Regions from separate parts of the Homo sapiens genome. Here region 2 is linked to region 1. Evidence: promoter capture Hi-C in human tissues and cell types (Jung and others, 2019). All regions are on one chromosome and are shown on one strand. The core of a region is centred on a gene start or on the middle of the fragment in contact, and the rest is flanking DNA. Distances in the headings are between cores, read along the strand shown. Region 1 holds the start of ULK1 (unc-51 like autophagy activating kinase 1). Region 2 overlaps SFSWAP (splicing factor SWAP).

Region 1 (5,853 bases), core at 2,403-4,902:
CGAGGCAGGTGGATCATGAGGTCAGGTGTTCAAGACCAGCCTGACCAACATGGTGAAACCCCATCTCTACTAAAAATACAAAAATTAGCCAGGTGTGGTGGCGTGTGCCTGTAATCCCAGCTACTTGGGAGGCTGAGGCAGGAGAATCACTTGAACCAGGGAGGTGGAGGTTGCAATGAGCCGAGATCGCGCCATGGCACTCCAGCCTGGGTGAAAAGAGCGAAACTCTGCCTCAAAAAAAACAAAACAAAAAAAAACAAAAACAAACACATTCTGAGGCTGGGTGTGGTGGCTTATGTCTGTTGTTTAATTTTATTTATTTATTTATTTATTTATTTTGAGATGGAGTTTCACTCTTGTCTCCCAGGCTGGAGTGCAATGGTGCGATCTCGGCTCACCGCAACCTCCGCCTCCCGGGTTCAAGCGATTCTCCTGCCTCAGCCTCCCGAGTAGCTGGGATTACAGGCATGCACCACAACACCCGGCTAATTTTGTATTTTTAGTAGAGACAAGGTTTCTCCATGTTGGCCAAGGCTGGTCTCGAACTCCTGACCTCAGGTGATCAGCCCGCCTCGGCCTCCCAAAGTGTTGGGATTACAGGCGTAAGCCACCACGCTGGGCCGATGGCTTACGTCTATAATCCTAACACTTTGGGAGGCCGAGGCGGGAGGATCACTTGGGCCCAGGAGTTTGAGACTAGCCTGGGCAACATAGTGAGATCTCATCTCTACAAAAAATACAAAAATTAGTAGGGTGTGGTGGCGTGCACCTGTAATCCCAGCTGCTTGGGAGGGTGAGGCAGGAGGATCACCTAAACCCAGGTAGTCAAGGCTGCAGTGAGTGGCGATTGAGCCACTGCACTCCAGCCTGGGTGACAGAGTGAGACCCTGTCTCAAAAAAAAGAAACTGTGGTACATATACACCATGAAATACTACACAGCCATAAAAAAGAATGAGATCATGTCCTCTGCAGCAACATGGATGGAGTTGGAGGCCATCATCCTAAGCGAACTAACACAGGAACAGAAAACCAAACACTACATGTTCTCACTTATAAGTGGGAGGTAAACACTGAAAATATACGGGCCGGGCGCTGTGGCTCACACCTATAATCCCAGCACTTTGGGAGGCCGAGGTGGGCAGATCACGAGGTCAGGAGATCGAGACCATCCTGGCTAACACGGTGAAACCTCATCTCTACTAAAAATACAAAAAATTAGCCAGGTGTGGTGGCGGGCGCCTGTAGTTCCAGCTAATCGGGAGGCTGAGGCAGGAGAAAGGCGTGAACCTGGGAGGCGGAGCTTGCAGTGAGCCAAGATAGCGCCACTGCACTCCAGCCTGGGCGAAAGAGCGAGACTCCGTCTCAAAAAAAAAAAAAAGAAAATAGGACACAAAGAAGGGAACAAGAGACACCAGGTCCCACTTGAGGGTGGGAGGGTGGGAGGAGGGAGAGAGGATCAAAAAACTACTTATCGGGTACTCTGCTTATTACCTGGGTGATGAAATAATCCGTTCATCAAACCCTGTGAAACATAATTTACCTGTATAACAAACCTGTCCACACACCACTGAACCTAAAAGTTATAAAAAGAATAAAAAATTTAATAAGACCGCACAAAACAAAAAAGAAACATGTCCTTCCTCGGTGGGCCTAGTAACGGTTTCCAAATGCAAATCCCATCTTGCCATCCCACCCTCTCCTAAACTCTTCCTGGGTATTTCTTTGAGTTTGGGGTGAAGACCCCGTTAGCTTGGCTTTCCAGGCCAGGGTGGGCTGGGCTGGGGTTCCCTGAGTACTTTCCAGGAGTACAGGCTTCGCCATCTCTAGCAATCTCGGCCCTCACGGTCTGCCCTGATCACCTCAGCACGTAGCCACCTGTTCACTCATTTTTCTCTTGCAATTTTGCCACGGGTGGTGCAATCTTTGCTCTTCTTGTCCCCCACCCCTAAGCGCTGGGAGCTCCTGCAGGCGGGTCTTGTTCTCACTGTGTCAACTGCAGCACTTACCTCGCAGCGTGTGCTCTCTGGGCAGGCCGGTGTGCAGCAGGCACTCCAGGATGTGAGTGAATGCTATGGCTGACTACGGGGCACTGTGGAACCTCTTTATTGGGAAAACAAACATGGTGGGCCAGGAGACCTCTTGTCCCTTCCAGCTCGGTGGCTTCTGGCCCCCAGTCCAGGGTCGGGAGTCTGTGTGTCCTGCGGCCTGGAGGATGAGCTGGGTGCAGGTAAAAGGCATCCAGGACTTGCTGATCCAGCCCAGGGCATCAGGCTGTCCAGCTGCTGGGCTGCTCTGGGAGGCAGCATGGAGGGTCCTGGCTGAAGTGTGTGTTTCTGGGCTGTTACTTTAGGACTGTACTGAAGGCTGGGTTGGTGAGCATTGTTTAGAATCATGCATTTGCAAAAGCAGTGCTTGCACGTGGTGAAAGCCATTCCAACTAGCGCGCAACGTGTACGGTGAACAGCACTAACTTTTCCCCGGTCCTCTCTCCCAGAGCAATCGCTGTTGGCTGTGTCTTCTGTGAGTGAGCCCCCGGGCTCTTTTGGCTGCCGGCGGTGTGACTTTGGACACATTCTCCAACTTTTCTCCGCCTTGATTTCCTCATCTGTAAAACAGGGACATAACAGCAAGTGCCTCGTGGAATCATTGAATGGATGCACTAATCGCTGGAAAGTGCGCTGCTTGGCCTAAGTGATGAGTTAGCTGTCATTATAGTTAGGAACGACCATGTACACATTACAGGCGTTTCACACACACACACATCCCAATCCTACCGCTTTCTTAAAACGACAGACAGTACAGTGCCCTGTTCCATATTTTGCTTTTACTTAATTATAATCTTTGGAGAACTCACCCTTGAGCACAGGTATATTTACCTCTGTGCAGTGTTCCACAGGACCGATGCGCAGCCCATCTAGCTAACCTTTCCTCCCCAGCGGATTTATGGGCTATGTCGTTGGTTTGGGTGACAACTTTTTGGTCTACAATTTTTTTTTTTTTTTTTGCAATTTGGCATTATGGAACTCAACTTTAAATGCCTAACCTCTAACTCAGCCATTCTATTTCTAAGAATTAATTCTGCGCAGTCCCCCGTTTTGGGAACATTTCCCACGCCTGTTCTCCATTCTCCTGTAGAAGGGGAACAGGGAGCGGGAAGGAGGGGAACAGGGAAGGGGAGGGAGGGGAACAGGGAGGGGGGACAGGAGGGAGGAGAACAGGCAGTGGGGGCGGGAGGGGAGCGGGGGGGAAGGCATGGGAGGGGGCGGAAGGGAGGGGGCAGGGAGGGAGAGAGGTGATGGGAAGGGGAAAAGGAGGGAGGAGGACGGAGAGAGGGGAAAGGAGGGAGGGGAGCAGAGAAGAAGCGGGGCGGGGAAGGGGCGGGGAAGGGGCGTGGAAGGGAGTGGGGCAAGGAATCAACACTGAGCCCCGTGGCCCGCTCCCGGGTCAGCGCGCCTCTCTGCTCTCACCGGGGCGGGTCCGCTGTTGGCCCCACCCACTCCCAGCCCACCCGGCCCCGCAATGGCCCGGCCCAGCCGCCCACCCCCCCGACAGGCCCCGCCCCATTCCCCGCCCCCCGTCTGTTCGTCACGCCCGGCTCTGCCGCTCCGTCCCGCAGGCCCCGCCCTCATCCCGCCTCCCGGCCCGGCGCGCAGTGCGGCTGCGCGGGCGTCTCAGGCTCTGAGGCCCGGGCGCCGCGGCTCTTTTGTTTCTCCGTTGGGGCCGAGCCCGGGCCCTAGTTGGAGCCGGAGTCGGAGTCGGAGTCGGATCCGGATTCGGATTAGCAGCCCGGGAAGAGTGCCGTGGCACAGGCGCCGGAGGGAGCGCGACCCTCGGACCCCGCCTGGCCCGCGGGGCTGGGACCCGGCCCCGGCCTGCCCGATGGGGCGCGCGGCCCCGGAGATGCGCCCTCGCCCGGCCCCGCGCCCCCGGCCCCGCGCCCCCGGCCCGCCCGCCCCGGCCCGCGCCTCCGCCTGAGTCCCCCGCGCCTTGGCCCGCCACCCCCCGCCCCGCGCCCCCGGCCCGCCTGCGCCATGGAGCCCGGCCGCGGCGGCACAGAGACCGTGGGCAAGTTCGAGTTCTCCCGCAAGGACCTGATCGGCCACGGCGCCTTCGCGGTGGTCTTCAAGGGCCGCCACCGCGAGGTGAGGCCCCCGTCCGGCCCGGGATCCCCCGCCCAGGATCCCCTGCCCCTGCATCCCCGCCCCGAGATTCCCCGCCTGTCCCGGGACCCCCCCACGCCTCCCGAGAGCCCCACTCGACTTTCCAGGCCGACCCCCACCCCAGGATCCCCACCCCGCGACCCCCAGCCCGACTTTCCAGTTCAGACTCCCGCCCCGAGATCCGCTGCCGGGCTTTCCAGCCCAGATCCTCACTCCGAGACCCCCAGCCCGACTTTCCTGTCCAAACCCTCACCCCGGGACACCCCGCAACCTGGTCCCACAGCCGGCTTTCGAGGCTGGATCCCTACCCCAGGACCCCCAGCGCGATCCTCAACCTGGCTCCCCACTCGGCCTTCCAGTCCCGGGATTCCCAACCGGGATCATCTCAGGGCCCCACCTGTGTGGACTGGGGTCTGGGGGAGGCCTGCGAGGGGCAGCCCTGGCCTTGAAGGTGCACGTTTGGCTTTCAGAAGCACGATTTGGAGGTCGCCGTCAAGTGCATTAACAAGAAGAACCTCGCCAAGTCTCAGACGCTGCTGGGGAAGGAAATCAAAATCCTGAAGGTGAGCCAGTGCTGGGGGAGGGGGCGTGGGCGTGGGCGTGGGCAAGCCCCCCTCCCCACACTGATAACAAACTTGGGTTTCTGTCCTAGGAACTGAAACATGAAAACATCGTGGCCCTGTACGACTTCCAGGTAAGGCCTCTGGGCTGCGGTCTGCTGGGGACCGGGCTGGGGGACTGTGGCCCCAGGTGCTGGATCCCCTGGTGAGCACTGGTGTTGAGCCTGTCCAGGCTGGGGTCTACTGGGCCCCTGGAGACTCCACCCTGGGTCCAGGCCTGGGCTGGTGCTGGCTCTTGCTGTGACTTCCCCAGCTGTGAGACCGGGGAGGGGGTGTCTGGGCCGCAGGGCGCCCCAGGGCAGGGCTGAGTTCTCCTGAACAGGCATCCCCTCCCCGCCGGGCGTCAGTCCTAGGGGCCCTGCCTGAGTCCGGCGTCCCCGGCTGGCCCTGGCAGCACTGCCGGCCTGGCCCACCTGTCTAGGCCGTGTGTTTGTTGACATTGCTCCTGCGGCCGGCATTGGCCGGCCTCGCTCTGCGTCAGACGGGGCGGGGGAGGGGCCGCCGGAGACTCCTGCTCGCTGGCAGTCAGGGCCGGGCCGGGGCACAGGCGGCTGCCGCTGGCTGGCCAAGGAGATGACCTCGGGCCCGGCTGGCCCCAAGAAGCAAGCGGTGGGACCAGCTGGCTTTCGTGCTGCCTCCGTGTCCCGGGGCCCAGGGCAGGCAGGGCTGGGGCTGTGGGAGCCAGGGTGCCGTCCTGGGGACCAGGAACCTGAGGCGGGAGATCCGCCCCGCCAAAGTGCTGACTAATGGCTCTGTGACCTGTTTACTGAGCCCAGGGCCCAGCCCCTGGCTGAGGGAAGGGCTGGCAGGCCGTGTTTTGGTGGCCTCCTCCGTCCGCCTCTCAGAGCTTTGCTGTGGCCTTGGGGACCGAGGCTTGTCACAAGGTGCCGGGTGGGGGGGGCCCAGGTCCAGCGAGTACCTGGAAACCCAGGCACACTGTGTCCTGGAGCTGGGCCATCCCTCCTGCTGCTTTTCCCGCCCTCTTCCCACCCCTTTTCTCCCTGCTTTCCTCCCTCCCTTCCTCCTCTTTCCTCATCCTCTCCATGTTTGGAAGCCTCCTGCCTGGACCACA
Region 2 (5,937 bases), core at 2,507-5,006, 170 kb before region 1:
ATTGAGTTCAGCGTGAATTTGATGGTTCTTACCCTTCATTAATCTGATGAAGGGCAATATAAAAATAGCCCTTTTAATTCCTGCCTCCAACGCTTTCCTTCTCTTCCCTTATTCATTTACATATCCTCTCCCTCTCTTTTATTCTTTCAAATATGGGTAAAATAACTTTTTGGATTTTGCCTAGTATAATTACTACTTGTATTGGTCTGTTCTCACACAGCTATAAAAAAATACCTGAGACTGGGTAATTTATAAAGAAGAGGTTTAATTGGCTCACGATTCTGCAGGCTGTACAGGAAGCCGGGCAGCATCTGCTTCTGGGGAGGCCTCAGGAAACTTATAGTCATGGCGGAAGGTGAGGAGGGAGCAGGCATGTCTAAGCATGTCCAGAGCAGGAGGAAGGCAGGGAGGTGCTACACACTTTCAAATGACCAGATCTTACGACAGCTCATTCACTGTCTATCACGGGAGCAGCACCGAGGAGATGGTGCGAAACTATTCATGAAGGATCCACCCCATGATTCATTCACCTCCCACCAGGCACTGCCTCCAACATTGGGAATGACAATTCTACAGGAGATTTGGCTGGGGACACAGATCCAAACTGATCCAAACTATATTACTACATATGTTTGTTTCTCCATTTCTAGTATTGATCATTTTGCTGTAGTTAAAGCTGAAATTACCCAAAGATTTGATATCCTGAGACTTGTATTAATATATTTTCCATGTATTATATATATTGTATTCCTATTTGTTCTGAAATATGTTTATTATGCATGAGAGACACATTAACATGAAGCTTTAAAAAATCACAGTTGCTCCATTTTTATTAAATGCTAAGTGCTCCATCTCTATTTAATGCTAAAAAGTTTATATGAAGTTGACTATATGGAATTTTACTTGTTTTTAGTGTTAAAAATTTTTTAATTTTTTATTCAAATTTAAATATAGAGGTACAATGGAATTGTGTTGCCTTAATTCCTATTAAAATATTTAATGGCTTTGTGTTCTCAGCCAAAATAAGCATCACTAAGCTCTTGATAGTCTGCCAGATCAAACATACTTGTCACTCATTGGAGAGCAAAGTAAGTCTTAGTGTGTAGCAACTTGCTGTCTTATCATTAGAGTTTCTTCTAATGATATTATAGAAAGGCCTCTTGAATGTTGTTTTGACTTTGTGGAAACTGAGTGCTTGATTGAGTCTCTCATTTGCGTCTTTCATTTATTTTATGGCAGTGTCAGTATTTCATTCTCATAATTATTATGTGTTTTTTGGCAGTAATTCATTGTGTAAATTATACACCGTGGTGTCCATGTTAGTGGAGAAAATGTAGAAGACAGAAGTGTCTGCATTATAAGTTGTTTTAGTGACTAGGCCTCAGAATTGTTGAATTGTGGTTAAGTAGACTATTGCTGCTTAAGGGGGCAGGACATGGTTTGACTCACTGACAAGAGAAGATTGGAGTGATTGGGAAAGACAGCAGGTACTTCAGGAGGTTCTTGGTTTTTAAACTAACTGTTGGTTTAGAACCTAATGATGACAGGATCCTTGAGGCTTTTGGATGAAGAGTAAGAAGTAGTTAGAAATTACAGCACCCCAGGCTGGGTACAGTGGCTCACACCTGTAATCCCAGCTCTTTGGGAGACTAAGGTTGGAGGATCACTTGAGGCCAGGAGTTCAAGACTAGCCTGGGCAACATAGTGAGATCCTGTCTCTACAAACAAGTAAAAATAATAGGCCAGTGTGGTGGCACGTGCCTGTAGTCCCAGACCTGTTAGGGCGCAGTTCCAAGGGAAATGTGCTTGCTCGAACACATTTTATGGAAAGTGGGGAAGGATTCGATAGTTGCTGTTGTGTGCAACGCTTATTCTGTTGATGAATAATAACATAGAACCAGCCTTTATGAAGCACTTACTGTGTACCAGACAGTGTACTAAGTGCTTCTCTAGGCATATCTCTCAGTTAATACTCAAAATAATTTTACAGGCCAGGTGCAGCGGCTCATGTCTGTGATCCCAGCACTTTGGGAGGCCGAGGTGGGAGAATCGCTTGAGCCCAGGAGTTCAAGACCAGCCTGGGCAACATGGTGAAACTCCGCCTCTACAAAAAATGAAAAAAATTAGCCAGGCGTGGTGGTACATGCCTGTAGTCTCAGCTACTCAGGAGGCCAAGGCGGGAGGATGGTTTGAGCCCTGGAGGTGGAGGTTGTAGTGAGCTAATACGGTACTGCTGCACTCCAGCCTAGACAACAGAGCCAGATCCTGTCTCAAAAAAATAAAAATACAAAAATAACTCTATGAAGCAAATACAGTTGTTGCCAGATGTTAAAGTTTAGAAAGTTAAGAGTAACTGCCCTAAGTTACATGTGTGAGGGTCAGGCCTGGGGTTCTAGCCAAGGGACCGACTCCAGAGCTCTGAACCACTAAAGTTAAGCTTTATCGAATTTGTGCAGATTAGAGCATTATTTCATCATAATTTAGGTACTGTATTGTCACAGAAGGTGGGTGGGGAGGGAAAAAATGTTGATTTATTCTTGAATTACTGTGGAGTGACTGGCCTTTTGTTCAGATTCGTAAGGACTCTTGACGTCTAATGAGCCTTAACTCTTGGTCCCCAATGTGTCTTGCAGGTATTTTCTCCCCGCACTTTGTTTTCTAAGTGATTGTACGACTCTCTGTGCAGAATTTAAGTATAGAGTGATATATGTCCCTCTATTCCTTATGGCTTCAGAATTTTAAAGCTTATTTTGGAAGGCTTCCCACCCACAAGAGTTTGAAAATATTTTCCTATATTTACTGCTGGTACTTCTGTATTTGTATTTTTGCCTTTGAATTTTGACTCAATCTGATACTTACTTAGGGCTCTGGGCAAAGCAGGTATTTGATTTTTTTTCTCCCCTAACCCCGTGAGGAGAGGGCTGGCCCCACTGCCCCTGGGGTTCCTTGCTAATTTCCCCTCTTCATGTCATGCCACCTCCTTCCTGGTCCCCCGATGGGTCTGAGCTCAAGCCTTTTCCAAAGCTCTTAGGAAACCGTGCATTTGTGTGGGTTTTCTGACCTGTAGATACCTTTCTCCTGTTTCCCATGCCTCCTCTGGAGCTTAAATTCACATTAATGGAATTTCCAGGGAAGGGGAGGAGGTGTTAGCCCCCTTCCGGGGCTCTGTCGGCTTCCTTAAACAAAAGGCTTCCCCACTGGATTTAAATTAGAAAAACAGTTTTCCTTTTCTTAGGCCATTGTAACATATGCATATTTATATGTTGACTGTATTTTTTAAATCTCATTGTGTAGTAGGAGTGATCATGATATTCTTAAATGGAAAATGATTTACCTAAAGTCTGCCTAATAAAGTAAAGAATGGCTTTTTCCAAACCAGATACTTTTTAATCTTATTCAGGGTTGGTAGCCAACCTTGAAATATGTCCGTAAGATGCTTTGTTTTTTTGTAAAATTACTTACACATTGCTTTTTAACCATGGTAATAGAAGTAGTATATAACAAATAGGCCTACTTTTAAGAAATTTTGGATCAACAAGTTGGTTTGGTCAATAAAGAAAGCCTAAACTGGGCCAGTATCATATTTTCCTTTAAGGGTCATTACTATGAAGTGATCATTAATTATTGATGTGTTTATGGAATATTCTGTTTTAACAATGAATAACCAGAGCCCCTGAAAATCCAAGTCGTGGACATGCATACAGTGGGCCTTTAACATGGAATTTAAATTATTTGGGGATTAATGAATAATTGTAGACATCTATCCTTTTTAAGTGTGAAGGATGTTATTAGTTCAAAAATTAAATTAGAGAATTAAGCCATTTATATTTTATGAAGGATGAAGCCCTGAATTCTTAACCATCCATTTTTAATGAGAATAATTGCCAGATTTATTTGCAAATAATTTCCTAGTGTTAATCTCTTTGTTGATATGAAAGGTATTTTAGATGTGTGGCTTTCAGCCTTTGGTCTAACAAGATCCATTTGTGGGCAGGAAATGCTAAGAGCATGAGGTTCGTTGAAGTGACTCCTTAGCAGCACATGAAGGGATGGGGGAGGGCTTTGATGCTGGGAAGAAACTCACCTGGAGTGTCCCATCTGCTCTGGCCAGACCACACCTAGGTGGTCTTCAGCTTGGGATACTGCTTTTAAGTGGGAATGGCAGTGAGCCAGGAACTGTGCAGGGGCTGGGGAGCAGGGCTCAGGTGCAGAAGAAAAGACATGGCGTACTCTTGTGGCTTTTGTTGGATGTCCAGAAGGGCTGTTTTGTAAGAGGGAGCCTCCAAGCTGTGAAACCTAGTCCCCGCTAAGAAGAAGGAAAGAGCAGTGATTCTGGTTATTGAGAACCATGGAATGTATACCCTCTCCCTAGAAAAGTGCTTGTTTGTAAAATTCACATGCACAGAGGATTCACAAACCCCCTGAATTCCATCATAGAGCTGAACTTAAATATATAGAAAAATGTTGACTTGGTGCACAAAGAAGTCACCTCCCATGGGTCTGTACCATGGTGGAGTGGCCTGCCTCAGCTGGCGAGCTTTCTCCCCTGCAAAATCCTGTCAAGATTTGGAGATGAGGAGTCCGAACAGCCTGGGCTCTTCCAGCTTAAAGTCTCGTATCTCTTAAAATTGACAGTAAAACCAGAGTCATTTCTATGTTTTAATGAAATCACGTGGCCGGTGGACAAGAGGACAAATGGGTGACGTGAATATGTGTGTTTTCCCGTAGCCACCAACCGCTAAAATGCACGCCATCATCGAGCGCACGGCCAGCTTCGTGTGCAGGCAGGGAGCACAGTTTGAGATCATGCTGAAGGCCAAGCAGGCCCGGAACTCCCAGTTTGACTTTCTGCGCTTCGACCACTACCTCAACCCCTACTATAAGTTCATCCAGAAAGCCATGAAAGAGGGACGCTACACTGTCCTGGCAGAAAACAAAAGTGACGAGAAAAAAAGTAGGTCCCACTGCGTCTGTTCCGTCCAGACTTTGGGCCTGTGTTGTGGGGGCGGCAGGCTGGGTGGTTCTGGGAAAAGTGTGAAGATACACATTCTTACAGATGCATGGTTGAAAGCCAGACTCGAATTTCTAGAATGTGTCTGAAATCCTGCAGCTAAGGCGTGATCGTTACCCCTGCTGGTGCACCTTTATTAAATCTTTGGTTAATATTTTATAGATAAATGAAATATAACTAAATATTGATGCTGTCAGAACATAATCATCTGGGTGGGAAATTTTTGCCCTCATTTTGCCCACTTAACATTTCATAGAGAAAACAGTTATATATCCTCTCTTGGATTATTCAAGTACCACAGTGTTCAGGGCTGTATAGCTCAATTATACATGGCCACAAAAGTGAAAATTTTACTTGGATTATCTATTTTAAGCTATTATTTTTATAACAGTGTCTCTATTTTGGAGTTCTTACTGCCAAAGCCAGTTAGCTGTATTTTGAATAAAGATGGTATTTTGACAAGTCTATTCATATATATGTATATATATACACACACACACACATCTTCCATTGAATTTTTTTTTTTTTAATTGGCGACAGAGTCTCGCTCTTGTCGCCCAGGCTGGAGTGCAATGGCGTGAGCGCGATCTTGGCTTACTGCAACCTCCGCCTCCCGGGTTCAAGCAATTCTCATGCCTCAGCCTCCCGAGTAGCTGGGATCGTGGGCACGTGCCACCACGCCCGGCTAATTTTTGTATTTTTAGTAGAGACAAGGTTTCACCATGTTGGCCAGGCTGGTCTCAAACTCCTGACCTCAGGTGATCCACCCGCCTCGGCCTCCCAGAGTGCTGGGATTACAGGCGTGAGCCACTGTGCCCGGCCCTTCCACTGAATTCTGTTCTCTTCAGCCAAAATAAGTTTCAAATCAGTTGTGTAAATCTTAATGCAGATCTCATCTTCAGTTTTGTTGTAGTTGTTTATTTCTG

What was found. Contacts are between HindIII fragments. The study calls those that stand out against the background at their distance.
Region 2: a contact is called between a fragment that was not itself captured here and the fragment with the promoter of ULK1 in region 1, in 1 of the 25 tissues and cell types used here (H1 embryonic stem cells).

What each region holds. Positions count from the first base shown.
Region 1 is chr12:131,890,970-131,896,822 of GRCh38, forward strand. It overlaps ULK1 (unc-51 like autophagy activating kinase 1), which reads left to right and starts at 3,653. Exons shown (of 28, transcript NM_003565.4): 1 at 3,653-4,143; 2 at 4,632-4,724; 3 at 4,814-4,855. The coding sequence starts at 4,033. It overlaps LOC124903059 (a long non-coding RNA gene), which reads right to left and starts at 3,189. Exons shown (of 2, transcript XR_007063538.1): 1 at 2,878-3,189; 2 at 2,089-2,606. RefSeq lists silencers at 3,323-3,372, 3,403-3,912, 4,980-5,129, 5,055-5,349, 5,320-5,379 and 1 more and an enhancer at 5,837-5,853. The HindIII fragment of the contact is 30,695 bases long and covers 1-5,853 here.
Region 2 is chr12:131,720,677-131,726,613 of GRCh38, forward strand. It overlaps SFSWAP (splicing factor SWAP), which reads left to right. Exons shown (of 18, transcript NM_004592.4): 5 at 4,729-4,954. Among named protein-coding and RNA genes, the nearest start is that of SFSWAP, 13 kb to the left of the region's middle. RefSeq lists an enhancer at 1-930. The HindIII fragment of the contact is 4,275 bases long and covers 1,620-5,894 here.